Regions from separate parts of the Homo sapiens genome. Here region 1 is linked to region 2. Evidence: promoter capture Hi-C in human tissues and cell types (Jung and others, 2019). All regions are on one chromosome and are shown on one strand. Each heading gives the region's core, a stretch centred on a gene start or on the middle of the fragment in contact. The rest is flanking DNA. Distances are from core to core; before and after follow the strand shown.

Evidence for each region. The method cuts DNA at HindIII sites, captures the fragments that hold promoters and counts their contacts. A contact is called where the count stands out against the background at its distance.
Region 1: a fragment that was not itself captured here is called in contact with the fragment with the promoter of CTSV in region 2 in 1 of the 25 tissues and cell types used here (heart right ventricle).

The regions. Positions count from the first base shown.
Region 1 is chr9:97,213,213-97,216,322 of GRCh38, forward strand. It overlaps the pseudogene ANKRD18CP. Among named protein-coding and RNA genes, the nearest start is that of SUGT1P4-STRA6LP-CCDC180, 24 kb to the right of the region's middle. RefSeq lists enhancers at 993-1,558, 1,559-2,122. The HindIII fragment of the contact is 4,674 bases long and covers 1-3,110 here.
Region 2 is chr9:97,037,683-97,040,842 of GRCh38, forward strand. CTSV (cathepsin V) reads right to left here and starts at 1,460. Exons shown (of 8, transcript NM_001333.4): 1 at 1,389-1,460; 2 at 236-371. The coding sequence starts at 361. RefSeq lists a silencer at 1,495-1,804. The HindIII fragment of the contact is 6,962 bases long and covers 1-3,160 here.

The sequences.
Region 1 (3,110 bases), core at 245-2,744, 180 kb after region 2:
TAGTGCAAAAAGTCTGCTACATAACATATTCAGGTTATGTTTGATGAATAAATGGATTGATAGAATAGAGTTGGGGAGCTCAATATTTTTAAATACAACTTCTATAAACCAATATTTTTGTGATAGTAATAATATTTGCTATTTGTTATTTTTATAAGACTACAACTATAATGAAATTATTAATCTATCATTGTTTGCCTATATGTAATGAATCTATACATAAGAAAAACATATACACATAATAAAGTATATACATAAAATCTGCAAGCAGATAAAAAGATTCCCTTTTTACTTCTGAAGAAGCTAAAAGTTCAAACAAGATAACAACCCTCACAATAATAATGATAAAAAATAGTGAGAAATTATTTTTATCTATACAAGATTCACATTTCTCTCTTCCCAAAATTTATTCCATTAATAATATATTTTTACTAGAAATTTTATAAATGCTCACTTCAGAAATCAAACGTAAGAAAAAGGAACAAAAAACTTTAAAATACAAATGCTCAGAAGTTACAAATTTTATCCTATTTTGTACATAGTTTTACCTAACACCAGACCATAGTATGTTTGTGTGTATGTGCAAGCAAACTGATTTCTTTTTCCTCACTGGCTGTAACAAAATGCATTTTCACACATCAACATACTTCTCTACCTATTGCCACCTTCAATGGCCACATATCCGTTCTATGGGTTCTTGTTAACATAAATGCTGGGGAAAAAAGTGCATGTATCTCTATTTTCTGAAGGTATTTTATTACAATGGAATTGATGGGTAAAGGGCATATACATTTTTAAAATGTGGTAATTATCTCCAAATTATCCACTTGAAAAGTCATCAGCAAGTTAAACTTCAAGCAGCAGTGTAAGTGCCACTGCTCTTTATTCTCACAAACACTGTGGATGGAAAACAGTCTCATTCCTCTTTTAACTTAAATTCTCTTATGAGAAACACTAAGGAATTTTTCCTATGTACATAAGTAACTTGTGGATCTGCAAAAAGTACTTTGCTCACTTTTAGACTTCTTTTCTTTCGGATTTGATTGGAAAGAATTCCCTGTAAAATAAAGTTGTGCTTTTTATCTGTATATATATATAACTGATATATATAACATTATATTAGTAATACATACAATTTGTTATACATATAATCAGTAATATATATATTATATATAATAAAGAATAAATTCCCTGTAGGATGAAGATACACTTTTCATCTGAATACATATTTTTATATATTAGTAAAAATATATATGGTAAATATTTTTCAGGTGTGTTATCTGTCAGGCCTCTGAGCCTAAGCCAAGCCATCGCATCCTCTGTGACTTGCACGTATACGCCCAGATGGCCTGAAGTAACTGAAGAATCACAAAAAAAGTGAATATGCCTTGCCCCACCTTAACTGATGACATTCCACCACAAAAGAAGTGTAAATGGCCGGTCCTTGCCTTAACTGATGACATTACCTTGTGAAAGTCCTTTTCCTGGCTCAAAAAGCACCCCTACTGAGCACCTTGCAACCCCTACTCCTGCCCACTGAGCACCTTGCGACCCCAACTCCTACCCGCCAGAGAACAAACCCCCTTTGACTGTAATTTTCCTTTACCTACCTAAATCTTACAAAACGGCCCCACCTTTATCTCCCTTGGCTGACTCTCTTTTCGGACTCAGCCCACCTGCACCCAGGTGAAATAAACAGCCATGTTGCTCACACAAAGCCTGTTTGGTGGTCTCTTCACACGGACACACATGAAATTTGGTGCCGTGACTCGGATCGGGGGACCTCCCTTGGCAGATCAATCCCCTGTCCTCCTGCTCTTTGCTCCATGAGAAAGATCCACCTACGACCTCGGGTCCTCAGACCGACCAGCCCAAGAAACATCTCACCAATTTCAAATCCGGTAAGCGGCCTCTTTTTACTCTCTTCTCCGACCTCCCTCACTATCCCTCAACCTCTTTCTCCTTTCAATCTTGGCGCCACACTTCAATCTCTCCCTTCTCTTAATTTCAATTCCTTTCATTTTCTGGTAGAGACAAAAGAGACATGTTTTATCCGTGAACCCAAAACTCCAGCGCCGGTCATGGACTAGGAAGGCAGCCTTCCCTTGGTGTTTAATCATTGCAGAGACGCCTCTCTGATTATACACTCACGTTTCAAGGGTGTCAGACCACGCAGGGACACCTGCCTTGGTCCTTCACCCTTAGTGGCAAGGGCAAGTACCCCTCAACCCCTTCCCCTTCACCCTCAGCGGCAAGTCCCGCTTTCCTGGGGCAGGGGCAAGTACCCCTCAACCCCTTCCCCTTCACCCTCAGCGGCAAGTCCCGCTTTCCTGGGGCAGGGGCAAGTACCCCAACCCCTTCCCCTTCACCCTCAGCGGCAAGTCCCGCTTTCCTGGGGCAGGGGCAAGTACCCCCAACCCCTTCTCCTTCACCCTTAGCAGCAAGTCCCGCTTTCCTAGGAGGCAAGAACCCCCAATCACTTATTTCCGCACCCCAACCTCTTATCTCTGTGCTTCAATCCCTTATTTCTGCACCCTGACCTCTTATCTCTGTGCCCCAATCCCTTATTTCTGTGCCCCAACCCCTTCTCTGCTTTTCTGGAGGGCAAGAACCCCCCACCCCTTCTCCGTGTCTCTACTCTTTTCTCTATGCTTGCCTCCTTCACTAAAGGTAAGCTTCCACCTTCCATTCCTCCTTCTTCTCCCTTAGCCTGTGTTCTCAAAAACTTAAAACCTCTTCAACTCACACCTGACCTAAAACCTAAATGCCTTATTTTCTTCTGCAATGCCGCTTGACCCCAATACAAACTCGACAGTAGTTCCAAATAGCCAGAAAATGGCACTTTGAATTTTTCCATCCTGCAAGATCTAAATAATTCTTGTCATAAAATAGGCAAACGGTCTGAGGTGCCTGACGTCCAGGCATTCTTTTACACATCAGTCCCTTCCTAGTCTCTGTGCCCAGTGCAACTCGTCCCAAATCTTCCTTCTTTCCCTCCCGCCTGTCCCCTCAGTACCAACCCCAAGTGTTGCTGAGTCTTTCTAATCTTCCTTTTCTACAGACCCATCTGACCTCTCCCTTCCTCCCCAGGCTGCTCCTCGCCAGGCCGA
Region 2 (3,160 bases), core at 210-2,709:
TGCGGGCAGAAATGGAAGAGAAACCATGGCCAGGGATGGGTTGATACTTCTCTGGGAGCTGTTCTCCAAGCCAAGACACAATGGAGATATATGCCCATATTGCACCTATAATGGGTGCTGTTAGGTTATTGCCTGGTAAGGTCTGGTGTCTAGAAGCTACTCTCTGGCTATCAACTCCCAACAGCGAGGACCATTCTCTCCAGAGTCCCTCTGGACAGTTTCAGATGTTACCAACCGCGCCATATAATCTTCTGTGTGTTGCCTTCCACTGGTACCACTTTGTATCCAAATTTTGGTCAAATTTTGGAACAGCGGAGGCTATTCCCAAGCAAAAGGCAGCCAGGACGAGCGAAAGATTCATGTTTCAAAACCTAGAAAGAGAAAAGAAATGAGTATCTGATTAGACCAATCCTAAAAAGCCATCTTACAGCCCCCGTGGAATAGAAATATTTCAATTATTCTCCCTAGCATTTCCCCAAGGACTGTGGAAGAGGCTGAAACAGGCCAAGTGGAGGTATTTGATGGGCCCACCAAAATTAAAAGCAGCCTGCAGAGTTGGAGGCGTTGAAACAGCATATGCGATAATTTAGGGTATGAGAAGGGTGTGAAAGATACCTGACGGGTGAGAAGCTTAAGGCAACAACTAGAAAACTAGGAAAGAGTTGGTCCAGGTTTTGCACCAATTGTACTGAGGTCATCCAGGCAAAACCTCACTAATGAAGACGTACCATCCCAAGTAGATGCAAGCGGATCCCCAAGGAACACCACCTCACACCTTCTTGGCTGATACACAGCAGGAGATGAGCTATGTCTTCCAACCTCTCCTTTTGGAATAAAACCTTTCGGGAATCCCTTTCCAGGAGACACTGGGAAGGAGAGCACCCACTATTCCCGCCGTCCCACACTTGGGTCTGTGCTACTCGCTCCCCTAAACCGGGGCAGGGTCACAAGGCCGCGCCGCTGGAAGCCAGGGGCCCCAGGGCCAGGGCCCGGACCGAGGCAGGCAGCTCCCGGAGCTCCGGGCGGGCCAGGACCGGGGCCGCACCGCCTGCTCTCGCCCTCTGCACGCGCCGCCGCGCCCCGAGAATGTTTGCGGCGGTGCAGGGAGCGGGGGCTCCGCGGCCAGGCTGGGGGCATGAAGCCGCCCGGTCCGGTCCGGCTTCAGCCCACAGGATGACTGACCTGCCCCGCCCGGGCCCTCCCAGTGGTGCCGGCGCCTCCCTGGGGTCTCCAACCGCCCTCCCCCGTTCCCCACCTCGAGGCTGGCAGAGCTCCGGGCAGAAGCTCTCACTCCCAGAAGCGCCCGCCTCCTCTCAGTGTCCCTAAAGGGGGGTTCCCTCCTCCAGTCCCCCTTCGCCCTGTCCCTCGGTCTGGTCGGGGGCGCTCACCAGCAGCCGTCGCAGCTGCGCAGGCACCCTCAGCAAACAAGCCTCTGAGATTACAGACGTCCGCGGTCTGGTGCAGGTTCGCCCGCCTCGGGATTTAAGTTTCCAGGCGGCCTTCCCCGCCCCCACCGCCTTCCCGCGCTGCGATTGGCTGTGCCGGCCACTGGGCGGGGCCCCGGGCGCTTAGAGCCCGCGCGTGACGCAGCCCAGTCCCAACCCGTCTCAGGTCTGGGCGCGCCTACCTCAATACACCCTGGCTGCGGGAAGCTGGGCCGGGCGCCCGGGGGCTGCGCGGAGGAGGGGGAGGCGCCTCCCTCAAGGGCTCAGATCTACTGACTATCCCGACTTACTGCGCTGAGCGGGTGGTTTACAGCGAGCTCTGTGTGGTATTTCAGTCCCTACTTTAACTTAGTCCTAGAGTTTTTGGTGAAAATCTGCAGGGCCGGGAGCCAGGGTACTCTCGTTCAGTGGCTCCTGTTTAGTCCACGGCAAAGGTGGGACGGAGTGGAAGAACGCACAGCCCCCAGCAGAAGCATTACCTTCCACTTAAGGGTGGGTGCATCAGGGCTTTAGAAGAATCTGGTAAGGAAAGGCACTCCCAAAACACGGGATGGATGGTCGAGACCGGACACCAGGAGGGACGGGACTAGCTGATAGGGTGTCCAGAGACCGCGGAGCGTTTTGTGGTGCGTCCTTCCCAGTCTGTTGCATTCAGGAATTCTTCCTTCTCCCATGTCTTTCAATACCAAAAAAAAAAAAAAAAAAAAAAAAAAGAGTTACAGAAATATTTGGTTAATAAAAAAGAGAAAAGCGTTGAGAATGGTGAAATAAATTGCTTTAAAAATTTTTCTTTTGTAGAAATGGAGTTTGGCTAAGTTTCCTTAGGCTGCTCTTGAATTCCTGGCCTCAAGCGATCCTCCCCTCTCAGCCTCCCAAAAGTGGTGGGATTACAGGCGTGAGCCACTACGCCCAGTCTGAGAGTGGTGGAAATTGCTTTTACTTACCTACTCTCTGCTTATGGGTTACAACGTCTCTTCCTCAGTATTCAAAGTGTGCTTCTTTTGAGATTTAATAAATTTACTTTAAAAATGTTTAATACCGGCCGGGCGCGGTGGCTTACACCTGTAATCCCAGCACTTTGGGAGGCCGAGGCGGGCGGATCACGAGGTCATGATATCGAGACCATCCTGGCCAACATGGTGAAACCCTGTCTCTACTAAAAATGCAAAAATTAGCTGGGCGTGGTGGCGGGCGCCTGTAGTCCCAGCTACTCAGGAGGCTGAGGCAGGAGAATTGCTTGAACCCGAGAGGCGGAGGTTGCAGTGAGCTGAGATCGTGCCACTGCACTCCAGACTGGTGACAGAGCGAAACTCTGTCTCAAAAAATAAAAATAAAAATAAAAATATATAATATCAGGGTTGAGGTGATGCAGTTTGAGGAACTGCTCTTTATGGAGAAATATATGTAGCTAAAGATTTAAGGAAATCATTAATAATTCAGAAACGTTTCTAATTCTTTTTAAAGTTATATAAAAAAATCCATTATAAAAAATATGTTTTAGAAAATAAACGTCCCTTGTGCCCTCTCCATAACCCTTTTCTAGGCATATCTTTTTTTGTTTTTACAAAAATGAAGTTATAATGCATATTGATTAATAAACTCTTAAAGATTAAATTGAATAATATCCACAGTTTTTACTTGTTAATTTGAAAATTTGTGAAATCAAGTTTAGCCTAAAGCTGCCTCCCCATGTGATTTAAGTTTGGCCTAAAGGT